Regions from separate parts of the Homo sapiens genome. Here regions 1, 3 and 4 are each linked to region 2. The links are contacts of gene promoters, found by promoter capture Hi-C in blood cells and fetal thymus (Javierre and others, 2016). All regions are on one chromosome and are shown on one strand. The core of a region is centred on a gene start or on the middle of the fragment in contact, and the rest is flanking DNA. Distances in the headings are between cores, read along the strand shown. Region 1 overlaps CD34 (CD34 molecule). Region 2 holds the start of PLXNA2 (plexin A2). Region 3 has its middle 15 kb from the start of LINC02767. Region 4 holds the start of CD46 (CD46 molecule).

Evidence for each region. The method cuts DNA at HindIII sites, captures the fragments that hold promoters and counts their contacts. A CHiCAGO score of 5 or more calls a contact.
Region 1: a fragment that was not itself captured here is called in contact with the fragment with the promoter of PLXNA2 in region 2 in 1 of 17 cell types (fetal thymus); the score reaches 6.2 in fetal thymus.
Region 3: a contact is called between a fragment that was not itself captured here and the fragment with the promoter of PLXNA2 in region 2, in 2 of 17 cell types (monocytes and naive B cells). The highest score is 6.0, in monocytes.
Region 4: the fragment with the promoter of CD46 here is called in contact with the fragment with the promoter of PLXNA2 in region 2 in 1 of 17 cell types (fetal thymus); the score reaches 6.8 in fetal thymus.

The regions. Positions count from the first base shown.
Region 1 is chr1:207,885,660-207,890,244 of GRCh38, reverse strand. It overlaps CD34 (CD34 molecule), which reads left to right. Exons shown (of 8, transcript NM_001025109.2): 5 at 624-780; 6 at 1,032-1,084; 7 at 1,399-1,563; 8 at 2,322-4,585. The coding sequence ends at 2,507. Among named protein-coding and RNA genes, the nearest start is that of CD34, 23 kb to the left of the region's middle. The HindIII fragment of the contact is 3,160 bases long and covers 1-2,903 here.
Region 2 is chr1:208,242,717-208,246,992 of GRCh38, reverse strand. PLXNA2 (plexin A2) reads left to right here and starts at 2,609. Exons shown (of 32, transcript NM_025179.4): 1 at 2,609-3,350. RefSeq lists a silencer at 2,492-2,551 and enhancers at 3,070-3,569, 3,570-4,071. The HindIII fragment of the contact is 7,265 bases long and covers 1,588-4,276 here.
Region 3 is chr1:207,972,157-207,976,679 of GRCh38, reverse strand. No RefSeq gene overlaps it. Among named protein-coding and RNA genes, the nearest start is that of LINC02767, 15 kb to the right of the region's middle. The HindIII fragment of the contact is 2,955 bases long and covers 1,509-4,463 here.
Region 4 is chr1:207,749,390-207,754,249 of GRCh38, reverse strand. CD46 (CD46 molecule) reads right to left here and starts at 2,196. Exons shown (of 13, transcript NM_172351.3): 1 at 1,941-2,196. The coding sequence starts at 2,037. RefSeq lists silencers at 1,309-1,666, 2,246-2,355 and an enhancer at 1,936-2,145. The HindIII fragment of the contact is 3,093 bases long and covers 1,754-4,846 here.

The DNA.
Region 1 (4,585 bases), core at 74-2,573, 360 kb after region 2:
GGCCCAGTCAGCAACCTGAAGAAAAATCTATGAACTTCATTAAAACTGGGTTCCATGCTTTTAATGGAAAACAGAGATGGAAGACGAGACAAAAATGCCATTTCAGTTTGAGCAATGCACTTTTTGAGACTCCTTTGGGTAGAAAGAGGGAGGAGGCCACTGAGGTTTCCACTGAGTGTATATTATAGATTTGTTCTCTCCTCCTCACCTCCCTTGGCTTTTCTTCCATCATTGGGGACTGCTGTAATCTTGAAACAGAATATTTTCTCTTAGTTATTATTGCATTATTAATATTTTCTGTTTTTGGCCATTTCTTTTGAGTTTAATTTGCATATGTGTACATGGGCAATGCTTCAACGAGACAATTTTTTTAAGTTTGTTCTCTAACATCTTAGATACTAGAAGATATGGATTTTGGTCCTGGGAGATTATTTAGGTTTTTTTCTTATTGTGTTGTTGCACATATACAGTTAGCAGTTTTTTTTTTTTCTGTTGGAATTTTAGAAACAAGGATCCTTCTTGCGGACGGGGTAAGAGTATGACTGTAATCAGAGACTCTGGGTGCAGTTTAGGGCAGAGCAGTAATTTCATCTCTTGCTCTCCATGTTTCTCTGTCTTCCCAGGCGGAGTTTAAGAAGGACAGGGGAGAGGGCCTGGCCCGAGTGCTGTGTGGGGAGGAGCAGGCTGATGCTGATGCTGGGGCCCAGGTATGCTCCCTGCTCCTTGCCCAGTCTGAGGTGAGGCCTCAGTGTCTACTGCTGGTCTTGGCCAACAGAACAGGTAAGGTGCACCTCTGCCTGGGGGAACAGGGAAGGAGTAGGGCTGAGGTTAGAGAATCCTGGGTGGAGATGGGGCATCTTAGATCCAGAGAGACCACAGGTGCTGGGGAGAAGGACTTGGCTGGCTTTGGGAGCGGTCCCCCCGAGATGGACCACCCTGGCCATCAGAGCATCTTCTAGAACAGCATGGGAGGGTGGAGCAGGATAAGCTGGTTTCTCTTTAGATTTAGCAACCCTTGTTTCTAATTCTAGAAATTTCCAGCAAACTCCAACTTATGAAAAAGCACCAATCTGACCTGAAAAAGGTAAGTCCTCTGAGATGATGGGCCTGAGAGGGAATGCCGGGGCAGGGGGGCTCCCTGGAGTAAGGGGGGAAGTCATTATCTTCCCCAGTTCTACCTACCATCCTTCTCTGAGTCTTCTCCTTTCTAGTCTTGAACCAAAAATGGTGGGGTATGACTGAATTAAGAGACGTCAGTCTCAAATCCCATTTCAAAAATTCCTGAGGTCAATGCCCTCAAGCATCTGTTCACTGTTGAGTCACACACAGAGGGCTGGAGCGGGCTGGGCTCCACTTTTGGCAAGTGACAGGCTGTATCTTCTTTGTCTTCTTTTCAAGCTGGGGATCCTAGATTTCACTGAGCAAGATGTTGCAAGCCACCAGAGCTATTCCCAAAAGACCCTGATTGCACTGGTCACCTCGGGAGCCCTGCTGGCTGTCTTGGGCATCACTGGCTATTTCCTGATGAATCGCCGCAGCTGGAGCCCCACAGGAGAAAGGCTGGTCAGTTCTGGGGGCCAGGGTAAAGGAAATGAGGAAGATAGTGGGTTTCTGGGGAGTTCAGTGGATGTCATGGAGCAGGAGGAGAAATACTAGAAAAAGCCCTTCTGTGAGCTTACATAAAGATATGCATGTGTGCACACACAGTAATCGGTGGAAGATTCAAAATATTATGTAGCAAACTGGGGAGGGGACAGTAATGGTGCCAGCCCACCTACTCGGTGTGGTAGCAGATGATTCGTGTCATCTATTCATTATGTTTTCTGGGATAGTTCAGCTTGGGGCCACCAGAACAGGCTGTTTAATCAGCCACACTGTATTTGCAACCGTGTTAAATGCCCAGTGGGTGCCCCCTTGCTCAAAAGGAGGTATACGGAAGGAGAATCCCCATTTGCCATTCTGGATGAGGGAGGACAAGGCTGAGGTCTGAATCTTGGCCTCTGGCCTGTCCCCTACCCTGGGGAGGTCATCCCACCCTTCTTGGAACTGCCCGTTTTCCTGCGGGAGCTGGCTGCCGAGCTGCGGTGGCATGGTGTGGTGCCTCTCCTATGTCCTTTCTCCTCTAGGAGCTGGAACCCTGACCACTCTTCAGGAAGAAAGGAGTCTGCACATGCAGCTGCACCCTCCCTCCGATCCTTCCTCCCACCTCCCCCTCCCCCTTCTCCCACCCCTGCCCCCACTTCCTGTTTGGGCCCCTCTCCCATCCAGTGTCTCACAGCCCTGCTTACCAGATAATGCTACTTTATTTATACACTGTCTAGGGCGAAGACCCTTATTACACGGAAAACGGTGGAGGCCAGGGCTATAGCTCAGGACCTGGGACCTCCCCTGAGGCTCAGGGAAAGGCCAGTGTGAACCGAGGGGCTCAGGAAAACGGGACCGGCCAGGCCACCTCCAGAAACGGCCATTCAGCAAGACAACACGTGGTGGCTGATACCGAATTGTGACTCGGCTAGGTGGGGCAAGGCTGGGCAGTGTCCGAGAGAGCACCCCTCTCTGCATCTGACCACGTGCTACCCCCATGCTGGAGGTGACATCTCTTACGCCCAACCCTTCCCCACTGCACACACCTCAGAGGCTGTTCTTGGGGCCCTACACCTTGAGGAGGGGCAGGTAAACTCCTGTCCTTTACACATTCGGCTCCCTGGAGCCAGACTCTGGTCTTCTTTGGGTAAACGTGTGACGGGGGAAAGCCAAGGTCTGGAGAAGCTCCCAGGAACAATCGATGGCCTTGCAGCACTCACACAGGACCCCCTTCCCCTACCCCCTCCTCTCTGCCGCAATACAGGAACCCCCAGGGGAAAGATGAGCTTTTCTAGGCTACAATTTTCTCCCAGGAAGCTTTGATTTTTACCGTTTCTTCCCTGTATTTTCTTTCTCTACTTTGAGGAAACCAAAGTAACCTTTTGCACCTGCTCTCTTGTAATGATATAGCCAGAAAAACGTGTTGCCTTGAACCACTTCCCTCATCTCTCCTCCAAGACACTGTGGACTTGGTCACCAGCTCCTCCCTTGTTCTCTAAGTTCCACTGAGCTCCATGTGCCCCCTCTACCATTTGCAGAGTCCTGCACAGTTTTCTGGCTGGAGCCTAGAACAGGCCTCCCAAGTTTTAGGACAAACAGCTCAGTTCTAGTCTCTCTGGGGCCACACAGAAACTCTTTTTGGGCTCCTTTTTCTCCCTCTGGATCAAAGTAGGCAGGACCATGGGACCAGGTCTTGGAGCTGAGCCTCTCACCTGTACTCTTCCGAAAAATCCTCTTCCTCTGAGGCTGGATCCTAGCCTTATCCTCTGATCTCCATGGCTTCCTCCTCCCTCCTGCCGACTCCTGGGTTGAGCTGTTGCCTCAGTCCCCCAACAGATGCTTTTCTGTCTCTGCCTCCCTCACCCTGAGCCCCTTCCTTGCTCTGCACCCCCATATGGTCATAGCCCAGATCAGCTCCTAACCCTTATCACCAGCTGCCTCTTCTGTGGGTGACCCAGGTCCTTGTTTGCTGTTGATTTCTTTCCAGAGGGGTTGAGCAGGGATCCTGGTTTCAATGACGGTTGGAAATAGAAATTTCCAGAGAAGAGAGTATTGGGTAGATATTTTTTCTGAATACAAAGTGATGTGTTTAAATACTGCAATTAAAGTGATACTGAAACACATCTGTTATGTGACTCTGTCTTAGCTGGGTGTGTCTGCATGCAAGAGTGACACCCTCCATTAGACCTAGCTAGACTGTGCAGTGATGTGGTGGGGAGGACCAGCCAGGGAAGAGGGAGCACCTCAGCAGACACAGGCACCAGCCAGGATGCTAAGGACCTTTAGCCAAGTCTGCCAACTATTCTCCTCCATGGGGAGAGGAAACATCCATTTCCAGTGGTAGAAAGGCAGACCCGAATGTACCAGGGAGCTTCCAAATGGAGGGTGGTATGTTGGGTTCTTAGGAGCTGTACCCTTCATGAACACCCTTCTGAGAAGAGGAGCATGCTGATCACTGCTGCAAAATATGCAAAACAAAGGGAAGGGGCAATGTCCTGTGCACCCTTTATTATCAGGCCACCCCCCTCCCCAGCCCCCCAGGTCAGAGTAGACACAGTGAAGGACTATGTGGGGACTGTTGTTCTAGAGACCTGGCAGCCAACTCAGGGAGGGGGCTGGTTTCCACCCTCAAGATTAAGACAGCAGCCTAATTAAAAAAAAAATCTGTAAGCATGTACCTCCCCCCAGCTTCCAAAACAACCCCCACCCCACCCCTACCAGGCCATAGGAAGTTGGGGAGGGAGTGCTGAGGAGCTCCAGGAAACACTCCCAAGTGTGTCGACAGTGGCAGAGGCAGTTGGGGCCAAACAAAGGTTGATTCTTCCATTCTTATCTCCATAAAGCCAGACCTTTCCCTTCAGCACTCCTCCACCCCCATCTCCTTCTTGCTTTTCTCCAACTCCTCTAATCATAGGTTCTTCCCTAGGACAGAGGGGAGGCGAAATGATGAGGTTCAGAGTCTTCCCTCAAAGGCGATGGCTGCCTTGAGGGTTGGAGCAAA
Region 2 (4,276 bases), core at 1,360-3,859:
ATATAGTTCCATTAAAGGAAGAAATTTAGTAAATTTGCTCTTCATAAATATTTGCGTAATAAATGAATGAATACCCAGATCAAAGGGAGAAGGTTAACGAGCAGATGTAAAGACTAGAGGTTCAGGTATACCGCTGTTGCCTCAGAGGATGTCAAATCTAAATACGAACCATGAACCCAAGGTTTTGGTTTTTTTTTAAATTCTCAGAGCATGTTATGGTAATTAGATGTTTAGCTAATAAGATCCATATTTGTTCTAGCCTATTAGGACTAAATATAACAACAATCTTTCCATTTTGATGATACTATTACTTCTTCCAACACGCTTACATATATCTATTTTAATTCCCCCAGTTGTCTGGAGAGTGAAGACAGAAATTCCCATCTTACAGATGGACAAACTGTGGCCTAGAGAAGTTAGAGGTACTTCATCCACTGTACCTCCCAGTAGATCAAGTTAGCGCTCTTTCCATTGCTATGCTGACCACAGGCTCTTCCATAGTCTCACAGGACTCAGATCTTAGACCCTGTTCAGTGGCAATGTGGAATCTGGATGGCGTCGTGCCACCCTGTCAGCCACAATGTGTCCTCCCGCCTGTGTTCCCTCTTTCTCTCCCTTTATTCAGGAAAGAGAGGGGAGGTGTGGGGATAAAAGATGGGGTGAGTGGAAGAGTCTGTTTCATTTTATGCTTCCTTGCTCTTCATTCTAAGATTTATTTCTGGACCACAGGAGTGGAGGGTGGCATATGAGAAAATTATTTCAATTGTATCATAATCTTCCCAAGGTGTGATTAAATTGAGGCATAGGGAAGAGAGGTGACCTCTTCCAGAGTCAGACACCACTTGATTTAGAACCAGAGGGCCCTAATTTTCAGCTTGGAGCTTTATCAATTAGATATCTCCAATCCTACCACGGCTGGTCTTAGGTGTAGCTGGCCAAACTCCATGAACAAATGGAGGAAGTGTTCCAAAATCTTCTAGCATCTTCTTCAAATCATCTTTTTTAATAAATTGTGGTTTAGATTCAGTCTACCCAGAGATAAAACGATCGACTAGTCTGTCTGCATGGGGAGACAAGATCTACTTATAAAAATAAATAAATAATAACACAGGGTAAATATGATAATTTATTGGTGTGTTACCAACAATGAATGCTAAAGAAGTTTGAAGGAAAGAACAGGTATGGATCAGGCAACACAGCTTAGACAGATTCTTTGTGGTCCCACAGGACAAAACTAGCAGTAGCCAGTGAAAGTTACAGGAACACAAATTTCAGCTAATTACAATGAAGAACTTTTGAAGAATTCGCTGATTTCTGCAGATGTTGGAGTAAAGCCTAGATCCCCCAGTCCTGTGTTGAATGTGCGATTGTTCGAGATGACTGGTTAGTCTAGATTTCCTTTTCTTCTTCCTCTCTCTCTCTCTTTTCTCCGGCTCCCTTTCTTCATCCTTCCCTCCCTTCGTTTCTTCTGCCGCTACTGCTCTAAGAATTTGGTGCAATTGCTTTTAGGTATTCGCAGTGATTTTTGTTGTTTTTTAGATTTATACCACTGAGGACTGTGGCCACGAGAGGGCAGTAGAGGAAGCTTATCAGAATACTTGGACAGGAGTAAACTCGTGTGCGCTCTAATCGCGAGCAGGGACTACGCAGATCCTGCGAACTCGCTGGGGTCCAGCTTGCAGGCCGCTTCCGGAAAGCCGTGTCTAGAGGCTGCGGAGTTACTGAGACTGTGTGGCGAGGAATCAGTGGCCTTGAGGGCACCGAGACATTGTCATCCAGAATCCCGAAACCTCTCACCTTAGGTTATTAAAATAAGTTATCTTATTGCCACCCCTCTGATTACCCTGCCAGAAAGATTCTCTGAATTGGATATAGAAAGCTCTTCTCCCGTCCCCAATGCCCCCATGCAAGTCGGGACTTACCAGATGCCCAGGATCCCTATCAGGGCTGGAAGTTTGAGATTCAATTCAGAGCAAGGTTCATCTTCTCATTGCAATAATAATAATAACAACAACTTCAAGCCTTATTTGACAGCTTGTTGGCCTTTTTCTTTTTTTAATTTACAAGAAGAGGAAATTTGCTCCCACAAATTCCAAGACTCTAGTCTCAACCCTACCAGACAAGCCCCGTTCCTCCCCACTCACCCCTCACTCAAATTACAGATGAAGAGGGAGGTGTGCAGGATGTGTGCGGTGACAGGTGATGCGAATGGGGGGGATTCCCTGTCCCTACTGCCCTCACCCACTCTTCCTGTGTTCTGAGCTCCCCCCTAACCCCAACGCTAGACCTTCTATTCCCCCGGGGGCCAAGCCAGCTGGGCTCGCAAGGCCCGACTCGAATTCCCGGGCCCTGGCAGCATTTTCCTTGCCCCCTTGGCTACTTAAGGTGGCCGATGGGTCCGGGCTGAGCTGGGCGCAGGACAGGCAGCCGAGCGGCCTCCGGATGCCAAACCTGCTTCTCCTTTGTTGACAGCTTGCGGAGGAGGAAGTCCGCGCGGGCGGGGGAGGGGGCAGGGTGCTGGCGGTGGCGGGCGGTGCCAGCAGCGGGCGCGGCCCCAGCCCGGGCGGACGCGGCCGGCGGGGAGGGGGTTAACGCGCGCGGCCTCTATGATAATGAGCTGCATGGTGAAATAGGGAGGCCGGCGCTCAGGGCTCCTCCGCCGCCGCCGCCGCCGCCGCCGCCGCCGCCACCGCGGGAGCCAGAGCTGCCGGGAGGAGCGGCATCCGCGCCAGACTGGAGCGGGAGGGCGGCGGAGGGCAGTTGCTGGGAATTTTTCAGCCGAGAGGGCGAGCGATCCGGAGAGAGACCCCGAGAGCTTGGGAGCGGTAGGGCGTGCGAGCGCCGCAGCCAGCGGAGCAAACCTCGAAATAGATCTGGAAAGCCAGGCTCCCGGAGGAAATGGGACTGTGAACGAACCGGAGAGCAAGAAGGGAAGGAAGCGCCGGGATTGCTGATGTCAGAGGAGCCCGGAAAGTCGCGCTGGAAAAATCTGAAGACAGCCGGGGCTCTGCTTCTTCCTCAGGAGAGACACCGCCGGCCGCCCCCACACGCCCCCTCGGCGCCTCCGGGTGCCCCCTGAGAGCCGGCGACAGCGCCCAGCCGGGCTGCTGCGGGGCGACGGAGGACTGAGGGGCGCGCGGAGCGGAGACCGAGGAGCGACTTCAGGAATACAGATAAGTGTCTGGTGGCTTGACGTGGATTTTAATGAATTTGGACTCCATGTGGATTTGGTCGTCTCCCTGATTCCGAGCTGCGGGCAGGGAGAGGGGCCTCGCGCCGCCCTCAGCAGCCGGCGGCGGCCGAGGTAGACCGAGCGGGGACGGAAGGACAGACCGACGTCGCCGAGCTGGGTAAGCGGCGGCTGGGCCGGGCGCTCGGAGTCGGCAGCGCCCTCCGCCCTCTCCCCACAGGCGCGCACACCCGTGGCGGCTTCTCCCGCGCCCGCCTCTTTGGGGTCCCGGCCCCAGAAGACCCGGCTTGGCCGCGGCGGGCGAGTCCCCGCGTGGGCTCGGCCACTTTCGCGGGCTGGAGCGCGGCGTGCGCGCGATCGCAGGCTCACTGGAGCCGCTGCCTCCCGCCGAGGGCTTCCCGGCCGGCAGCCCGCCGGCTTCCCGAATGCGGGCTGAGGGCGGCAGCAGCGCTCCGCGGCGCGCCTCCACCGCGCACCTGCCGGCGCTCTGCGGCTTTGGGGAGCTCGGGGCGGCAAGGCTGTCCTGAGAGCTGGAGCCCAAAGAGGGCCTCGGTGGCACCAGCGAGACAGCCCAAAGCCACACTGGCCAGCGATCGATTTGGGGGCGTTCACTCCAGTGCCGGGGTCCCTGGTGGCCGCCGGCTCTCCCTTCCGATCGGGGACTGGAGATCAGGGGAATGGGAAAACATCATTTGCGCGGGTTCCATAAGGCTCAGGGAGAGATTCCTAGGCACTGAATGGGTCTAAGTGTTTCATCTCCCGGGGCTCCCTTTGCGGTGTATCGCCCAGCAGGGGTCCAGCCCCTTAGTTTGAGCACCACAGGAGTGCTGGGGGTTGAAATGGGAGTTTGCTTAGGGTCCCAGAGGCTCCTTATGAACCATTTGAGAATGTTTCCTTCCATGTGCTCTTTCTTGCCCCACCCCACAAGTGAGGTAGGGATCCTAGAAAATTCTAGCCCTTTTTATCCATCCCACAGGTAGTCTCTATAATGCCAATCATGGTCTAGATGCCCAGAGAGTCACCAGAAACTACCATTTTAGATCCCCGAAAAAAGTCCACCTGTTTGGAATGACCCTTGCCCTAGTG
Region 3 (4,523 bases), core at 1,737-4,236, 270 kb after region 2:
AGAACTGCAAAGAAAGTTTGAACTTTGTTTTGTTTTGGTAATGATATACAATAACAATTCCCAAACTATTTTGGCAAATGACTATATATGCTGATGTTGTTGAGAACCAGGGAGGCTAAGAATCTTTTGGAGAGAATCATTGTGGAAGAACAAGATACAAATAAGGAAAGGAAAAAGAAGAGGAAAACTCCTGTAGTATTAGATTGAAGTTAGAAGTGTTTAGTAAGTACTCATTACTTTTTTTAGGCATTTATTTTTCTCCAATCTTACTGAGTTATAACTGAAGTACACTAAACTCCATATTTAAATGTAGTTTGTTGAGTTTTGACCATTTTACATTCAAAAAAATTGCCATGATAAAGACAACAAACATTTCCATCACTTCCAAAAACTTATTTGTGTTCTTCAACATCCATGCCTGCCTCTACCTCCATTTGTAAGCAACCACTAATCTACTTTCTGTCACTATAAATTAGTGTGTATTTTCCAGAATTTTATATAAATGAAATTATATGGTATGTGCTATTTTTTGCCTGGCTTTTTTTTTTTTACTAAATATAATGATTTCAGATTCATCTCGGTTATGTATCAAGGTTCATTCCTTTTTATTGTTTTTATTTCCAGGATTGGAATGGTTCTGTTACTAGGTTCATATACATTTATAATTGCTATGTCTTCTGGATGAACTGTCCCTTTTATCATTATGAAATGTCCCTCTTTATCTCTAGTGATACTCTTTGTCTTGAAATCTATTTTAGCTGATTTAAAAATAGCCATTCTAGGCTTCTTATGCTTATTATTTGCATGGTATATATTTACTTTAAACCTATCTGTGCCTTTGCATTTGAAATGTGTCATTTGACGGCAGCATATAATAACAACTTGCCTTTTTATTCACTCTGTCAATCCTGGACTTTTAATTGAAGGGTTTAGATCATCAGCATTTAATGTACTTATTCATATTGTTGGATTTAGTTCTACCACTTTACTCTTTGATTTCCATTTGTCTCTTCTTTTTTTATTTGTTTTTCTGTTTTTGAGACAGTGTCTTGCTCTGTCATCTGGACTGAAGTGCAGTGTCACCATCATAGATCACTATAGCCTCAAACTCCTGAGCTCAAGTGATCCCCCCTCAGCCTCCTGAGTAGCTGGGACTACAAGCACATGCCATCATGCCTGGCTAATTTTTTTTTCTTAATTTTTTGTAGAGATGGAGTCTTGCTATGTTGGCCAAGCTGGTCTCAAACTCCTGGGCTCAAGTGATCCTCCTGCCTTGGCCTACCAAAGTCCTCGGATTATAGGCATGAACAACTGTGCCCAGCCTCCCTCTAGTTTCTTTCCTATATGCCCCTTTTTCAGCCTTCTTTTGGGTTACTTAGATAATTTTTAGTAGTCTTTTTAAATTTATCATTAGCATTGTGGCTAAATCTGTTTGTATTATTTTTTAGTGGTTGCTTTAGAGATTACTATATATATATATTTTCACATTCAAGTAAAATATAGAAGCTTTGCAACCACATAAAAGTCCTTTAATATTCCCTTCAAATGACTTCTATGTTATAATTGTCATTTGACTATATCCTCACACATTAAAAACTCCACCAGCTTATGTTATAAGTTTTGCTTCCAATGGTCCTAGGTGTTTTTTAAAACTTTTTTAAAAAGTCTCTTATATTTACCCAGATATTTACCACTTCTGTTGCTCTTCCTTCATTCCCTAAAATCCAACTTTCTTTTGTTATCATTATCTTTTAGCCTCTGATGAATTTCCTTTATCATTTATTACAGAAAATGTATTCTGGTAATAAATTATCTCACTTTTGCTGCATCTGAGAGTAGCTCTATTTTGACTTCACACCTGCAGGATATTTCTGCTGGATGTAGAATCCTGAGTTGACAGTTCCTTCTTTTAGTACTTTAGAGATGTTGATCCCATCTTCTGACCTTCATGGGACAAGAAGAAACCTGCAGCCCTCAGAACCTGTGTATATGTAATGTGTAGCTTTTCCTCTAGCAGCTTTAAAGAGTCTTTCTTTGCTTTGATTTTCACCATTTTGACTATGAGATTAGGTGAAGTTTTCCTTGAGTTTATCCTGTTTGTGGTTTACTGAGCTTCTTGAATCTTAAATTTACAAACATGGAATAATATTAAAATGCAAGAAGATGTTAATAGAAGCATGGAGCAGACACAGTGACCACCCAAAGGAGGAGCAGTCACTTCTACCAAGGAGGGGAAGGGGAAGGGATGCCAGGAATGTATGAGACATAGAGTATGGGACAGGCAGTCTAGGCACAGGGGACAATGTGAGAAAAACTGTGAGATATGACAAATACAAAACCCAGTTCCCCATTCTCCAATTCTCTCGCACGTCACGTCACTTTTTTTTTTTTTTAACAGCTGGTTTTGTTTTGTAACGTTCTTAATGACATCTTTGGGACAGGCACATTTTCTAACTCTGCCTTGTCTTTTTAAGGACAAAAGTAGCATTTCTCACTTTCCTTGTATCTTTTGAGGATGTCTAACACAAGGCTTTTCAATTTAAATAAACAAACAAACAAAAAAAACCCAGCAACCTGCTCTTTGGACAGCATGTGGGAGGCTAATGCTGGTTGTGGCTCTATGAAAATGAAGTGATAGAACCAAGAAACTCAGCTTTCACTGTTAAAACAGCACAAAAGCTGCCTCTTTAGACAGAACAAGTTAATTGATTGAAGCAGTTTGAGACTCTCAAATAATAGTAAAATTTCATTTTATTACCCAAACGTACACCTATTAAAATTCACCCTCCAAACCTTAGATGATCATCCAGAATTAATTACTACATTTAGGGGCTAAAATTGAGTGCTTTGTTGGTTTCTCTAGATAATTTACATATTATTACTTTACAATTCATGTTGTAATAATTTTTATTAAAATTAGTAAATGAAAATGGAATATTACATCCAAGTTTATAGAACCCTGGAATCAGAGTCACTAATCTTTTTCTCCTTTAAAATTACAATTGTCAATTTAAAATATACACATATGTAGAACTTAATCATTTATTTTAAAAAGAAAAGCATGAAACCAAAATGAGTTAGTATTTACAATTTCGTTGAGATTGTATCAAACCCACAATCAAAGTTGTAGAATGTAGAGAGCAAGAGGGAAAAAAAAACAGAAAGAAGTGGAGAAAAATTAGCCAAAGTAGAGAAGAGATGGAAAGCAAAGAATACCAAAAAGTAAGTCAGGGGAAGAAGCACTGTTTAACTTTGTTCAACTCTGGAACCCAAAGAACAGCCCAAGCACCATCAGTGCTCTAAGAGCTACAGTCCAGTCTGGACAACCTGGTTAGCGTCATCCTCAAACTTCAGCCGGGAGTAGCGTGCACCATTGGTACAAAGAGCTGGGAGTTGCAAGACAAAGACTGGAACATTTGTCGGAAGTCCTCCTGTGTCCACCAATTCCCGCAGAGACAAGTGGCCCTGGGAGCCCACACTTCAGTCCACAGCATTTCCTCCCACAGTCCACCTCTTTGGAAAAGCCTAACCAAAGGTAGTCTGCAGTCTGGGGGGTGGGTGTGAAGCGTTTGGTAAAACACAACCCACCTGTGAGATTCCTGCTATTTACTCAGACCCTGGGCACTCAGTGCACCTCCACACAAAATAGGGAGTGCGTCAGGAATGTGCCTCACTTTGGAGGCAGCACCCCCTCTCTCCTCCGGAGGAAATAACACAGTAGAGACTAAGGGAGCAGAGATCCCCAAACCCCAAAACATGCCCATCCATGCTGGAGACAGGAACTGCGAGCTCTTGCCATAGACTTCTGTATTTCTTTTATTCCATCTCTCAATATCCCTTTTTTCTGGCCCCTCGGCATTTTCCGGAGGTCTGCTCTGCCTGTCTTCCTCCCCCATCTTCATTTTAATTTTCTATTTATCTCATTGAGATCCTTCTGGCGAATGAGGTTCTTCTGGCCAGCTGGGACCTTTCAGGACTTTCCCTGGCTCTCTCTCCCACTCTAGATAAATCCACCCACCTGCCATGCTCCCTTCATCTCCTCCTCAAGCCATCCCAAGCACAGTGACTGGACGAGCCTTAGGAAATCCTCCAAACAGAGAGGGAGTGGGGCAATGTTTATGTGTCCCTTTCAGTATCACCTCTGAGCTGGGAGGGGACCGTCAATTCTTGAGCAGAGTCTACCAGAAACCCTGGCTCCACCGCATCCCTCCACTGGCAGAAATCGGCCCTTGGGACATTTCCTGACAGCTCTGACAGGCCTCAAGGAGACAATTAATGCCTCGCAGCTGCCACTAACAGAGAAGGTGCTGGAAGAGGGGGGGAACAGGGAAGGAAGTGTGTAAATCTGCAAAAAGTTATAAAGCAATAGGAGAGAGCAGGCAGGGAATTGAATGAGAATCTTACTGAACAAATTTTGCTTGGAATCTCCTCAAGGGCTGGTCTGAGGAAACCAAAGGCAAGCTTAGAAACACCACAGAGCTGGGCTTGTGGACATCTCTGCAATGGACATAACTTCTGGAAAG
Region 4 (4,860 bases), core at 947-3,446, 490 kb after region 2:
CAAAGTCTGTTTGATGAGCAGAGAAGCCTTCCCTCTCTCCAATCATTTGTTAAATGCTGTCAGATTTATATCTGAAAATTATACTGCTTGCCTCCAGAGCACTTCCCTTGGTTCATAATTTATTTGTCACTATTATGTTTTGGATTTTAATGTCTGCCAATCCCAATACATTTTAGCAAATAATTTATTGGTTATCTACTGTGTTCCCGGCACTGAGCACTTATCATTGAGCAAAACAAAGTCCCTGCTTATCTTCCTGCATGAATGTGTGTGTAAACAAATAGTGAAAAAAGGATCAAGAAAATAGGAATGGTTTGTTATTGCCTACCAGTGTAATAGCACCAGACATACAAGACCCATATTCGTTGAATGAATGCTCCTAAGGAAAAAAATGCAACGTAGAAACTATACATGTTATTGGATCCTAAATATAATTTGGACATAGATACACATGACGCGCACATGAAGGCAGAAACAAATATGCCAAAATATTAAAAATAGCTGTCTTTTGATTCTGTTCGTATCGCACAATAAGCATGTATTTCTTAGCGGGTTTTTTTTTTGTTTGTTTGTTTTGTTTTGACAGGGTCTCACTCTGTCATCTAGGCTGGAGTGCAGTGGCATGATCACAGCTCACTGCAGCCTTCACCTCCTGGGCTCAAGTGAATCTCCTACCTCGGCCCCCAGAGTAGCTGGGACCACGGGCATAAACCACCATGCCCAGCTAATTTTTGTATTTTTTTGTAGAGACAAGGTTTTGCCATGTTGCCCAGGTTGATCTTGAACTCCTGGGCACAGGCAATCACCCCGCCTGGGCCTCCCAAAGCGCTGGGATCACAGGCGTGAGCCACTGCGCCTGGCCTAGCATGCATTTTTAAAAGTATTGATTCCATTCAATGAAATACAAAATAAATTTAGTGGGATAGGCCTTAAGCTTTAGCTTATGAGCTGCAGGGGAAAACAAGATTAACATTATCTGCCTTCCTTTGTTAGGATACTAATTTCTCACTAGGTTTGGCTACCATTGTTTTTTAGGTTGTTTCACATCTCTCAAATATGACTCAAAGTAATGAAAAGAAGGAAAACAATGTCAAAAAGCCATTAGGCAATGGAATCAGATACTATCTATATTGGTTGGGAACAGGAAGAAGACTCGATGGCCCACCCACCCCCCAAAAAAGCAGCCATTTACAAACTAATAGGAGCTCAGGTAACACGGAGACTGTTCACAGAAGGCACAAAAAGCATGGCGCGCCCTTACCACCTCTCTAACCCCAGGCACCGAGAGCCTGCTCTCACTCAACATGCCCTCCCTAGCCCCAGAGTCCGCGCTCACTCCATTCAAAGCAAACAGTTGAGCTGTCTTGCCCACAGTGAACTCTGCACACAGGCCACTTACGCACAGCACGCTCCCAGCAACACCTGGCCAGGCCCCTGCTCGCCCAGCCCAGCACATGGGGCACAGCAGACGCACTGCAACCCTTACCGCGGGTACTGTCCAAGCCCTAATGAACACCCCACTCACCAAGGCACCAAGGGAACACAGGGCAAACTCTCACCACGGACACAGCACGGGCCCTAGCAACACTCCCACGCACCTGTGCACTCCAGAACAAGCCCTCACCTAGGGCGCCCAGTCCGCGCTCCCCTGGCCGACTGGCTCAATCCCGAAAACACGATTCACGCTTTTTTTAGGGACGCAGCCAGATCCTGCGTAAATGCTGGCCGCGCACACGACGCCACCAAACAAGCTTCACCTCGGGCTCTGCGTGGTCCCCGCATTCCCCGCCACATACCCCCGGGATCTGAGCACTGCACCCCTCAGAGAACCCTGTCCCCAAACAGGCACGGCCTGCTGTGAGCCCCGCCCCGCGACTCTTGCCCGACTGAGGAGAGCTCTAGTCTCGCCGCGGACGCGCGAACCCGCCCCGGGGTCCTACCGGAGAAGGAGTACAGCAGCAACACCATGGCCGCCAGAAGCAACCCAGGAAAGCGCCAGGAAGGAAAGGGACACTCGCGGCGGCCGGGAGGCTCCATGCGCGGCGCGGAAGACGCTGTTATTTCTCCGGAGGAAAGCAGAGAAACCGAGAGCCAGCCGAGCAGGGAAGTCCCTTCTGGGTCCAGATATGGGACGCAACAATCCCCAACTCACAAAGCATCCAGTGCTGCAGGACAGGTGGGCGTGGCCCGAGCCGCGCCCGGGGCGGAAGTGCGTCGAGTCACCAGGGCGGCTGGGGCCAATCGGCGGGCCGCGGGGCGGAGCCTCGGCGTTCATGGGCAGCCCTTGGCCTTCGAGAGGTCAGGGGGAGGCCCTGGCGGAACCTAACAGAACAGGTTCCCCGAGGCCGCCTTTTTTCTTGCTAAGCCCTTGGCCTACCATCCCGGAAGCCTGAGGCGTCCTGCGGGAAAGGACTGGCTCGCCGTCATATTTGTGACCCAGGCAGGGTGGAGAGAAAACTAAGCTGCTTTGGTAATAGTTTCCGGGAATTCGGGAGTCAAGAATAAAGCACTTCGACCTAAAAATAGAGATCCAGAGTCTAGACAGGGGGTCACCGTGGGCTAGCACCCCTCAGGGTTAGTTTTATCCTGGGGCACTGCAGGCTGTCAGGACTGCCTGGGCCCTTACTTGGTATTTGGCATTAGTCAGGCATTATTGGGAACAATATTTGAGTTTTTCTTGCTTGAATGCCTGCTACTGGATCGTCTCGGGGCCGTCTTGTTTTCACAATCTCAAAGGTTTGGCTTCTGCACTCCCAGCCCCTAAGGTAATTTGCCCTTTGCTCCCCTCCCTGGAGGGGACCCTTCCGAATCTAATTTATTAAGCAACACCAGGCAATTAGAATATTGAGACTCTATGGGGCCCTTGCCCTTGAGCAACTAAATTTTTTATTGAAGACGAAATATACATGCATGAACAATGTAAGGACAAGGGTGTCCTAAGTGCCAAATTCCTGGAAGCAATAAATGCAGAAGGATTCGGATGGGTAGAAATTGTTAGGTGAAGAGTGGATAAGGGGGAGAACTTTTCTGGTGAAACAATCTGAGGAACAATACTGGAAAATTAAGAATGAGCAGGATTGATTTGTAGGATTGTGAGTAAACCGGAATGACCGGTAAAAGGAAAAGGACATGACTGACATTAAAAGAGCAAACAAAGAGTTGACATTTCTTCCCCTCAGATTGGCAAAGAATTAAAACGTCAGCCAATGTGAGTGAACGTGTTGCAGGGGGACCAGCACTCTGTAACATAACTTTTCAGTATGTTAAAAGTCTTAAAGTGGACATGACTTGTGTTAGGCTCTCAGTTCCCAGAGAAATCATCAGAGCTGTGATCAAAGCTCTGATGTGATCAAAACTCTGATGTGATTAATTTTTGAAAAAATGTAAACCCTAAGTGTCTAGCAAAAGTAATAAAGAATTTCTGGCAGTTACCTTTGTGTGATGGAATTCTATGCAGCAAATATTGCAAAAGAATACCAAATATGAGAAACTATGATATCATTGTAAGTGGAAAAAGCAGAGTCCAAACTGGCATGTGCCTTTTGGCAGTCCTTTTATTAAAACAAAAGTACCATATTGATATGTATAAAAAGAAACTAGGAATACAGCAAAATTAACAATGGTTGATAAGATTACAGATATTTCACTTTCCTTATGCTTTTCAGTTTTCTATGTTGACCTTATGTTACATTTAGAATAAAGTAAAGAAAATGTATTTAAAAAATCAAACCTATATATCAAGGGCTGTTTTGTTCATAGAATTATGGGAGCAGAACTTGTATTACACAGGGTTAACCTATGAGAGGACGGTGAGGAACTGGATGCTCAGTGTATAAACCTAAAATGGGTCTTATAGAATTATAGAGTTTAAGTGTATTTAACACAGTTTTATAACCGAGATGTACTGAACAATTTCTGGGTTCACCAAACCATGGAATTTCCTCTTCCTGTCCGACCAACAAAAATTTTTAAATTCTTGGCAGAGATTATAAGACATTAAGTGTGGAGGTGGTATATCAGATAAACATCTTAGTATCTTGGATTATAAAATTCAACACTCCATGACAGCAATTAAAGCGGGTATAATTAAAGAGATGGTAAATAGGAAACTCAATGCGGGAAAATTATTATTTCTGTTAATATATGGTGTCAAAGAGTGATATAACAGATATGTTCTGTGGCTCAAAGCCAGCCTTCATTTGTGAAAGTGGATAGTCTATTTACTGTTCTCAGCAACAATAAATATTAAAAATTCTCCATCCATTTTCAGGCTTGGAAGAAAAATGTCTTTTTTTCTCATGAGAAATTTTATTATAAACTATAGAAGAAAAAATAGTGCTAATGTTTGATTGCCTAGTTTCGGGTGTCAAATTAGATTCAAAGATTGGTATTTTGTTGAAATTTTCTTTCAATCAGTAAAATTTCTATCCCTGAGTTAAGCCATTCTTAACATACTCGAAGACTTTCACATTAAATATTTAAAACTTATTTTTATTTGATTCAACTGAGGCTTTATTTGAATGGCTGAGCCTTGTTCTCTACTTTTTGGATAAGTTTCGTGAGTCAGGGATAGCATTTTCTCATATCTACAGTGCCAAAATCTATAGTAGGTGTACAATGAATAACTGGTAAATATTGGATGAAATAAATGGTTCTTGTGGTCAAGTGCATTTAACATGTCTCTGCCAGTTCTCCCCCAGCATGAATTTACCAAATGCCCACAAAGTTCTGAGAGATTTTGATTTAAATAATTTTAACCCTAGGAAACAAATCAAGATTGGTCTGTAAAAGGGATGAGCTACAACTGTCTGCACAGCAAACTTTCCTAAATCAGGTGTTGCAAGCTTACTTGTGAAGTGG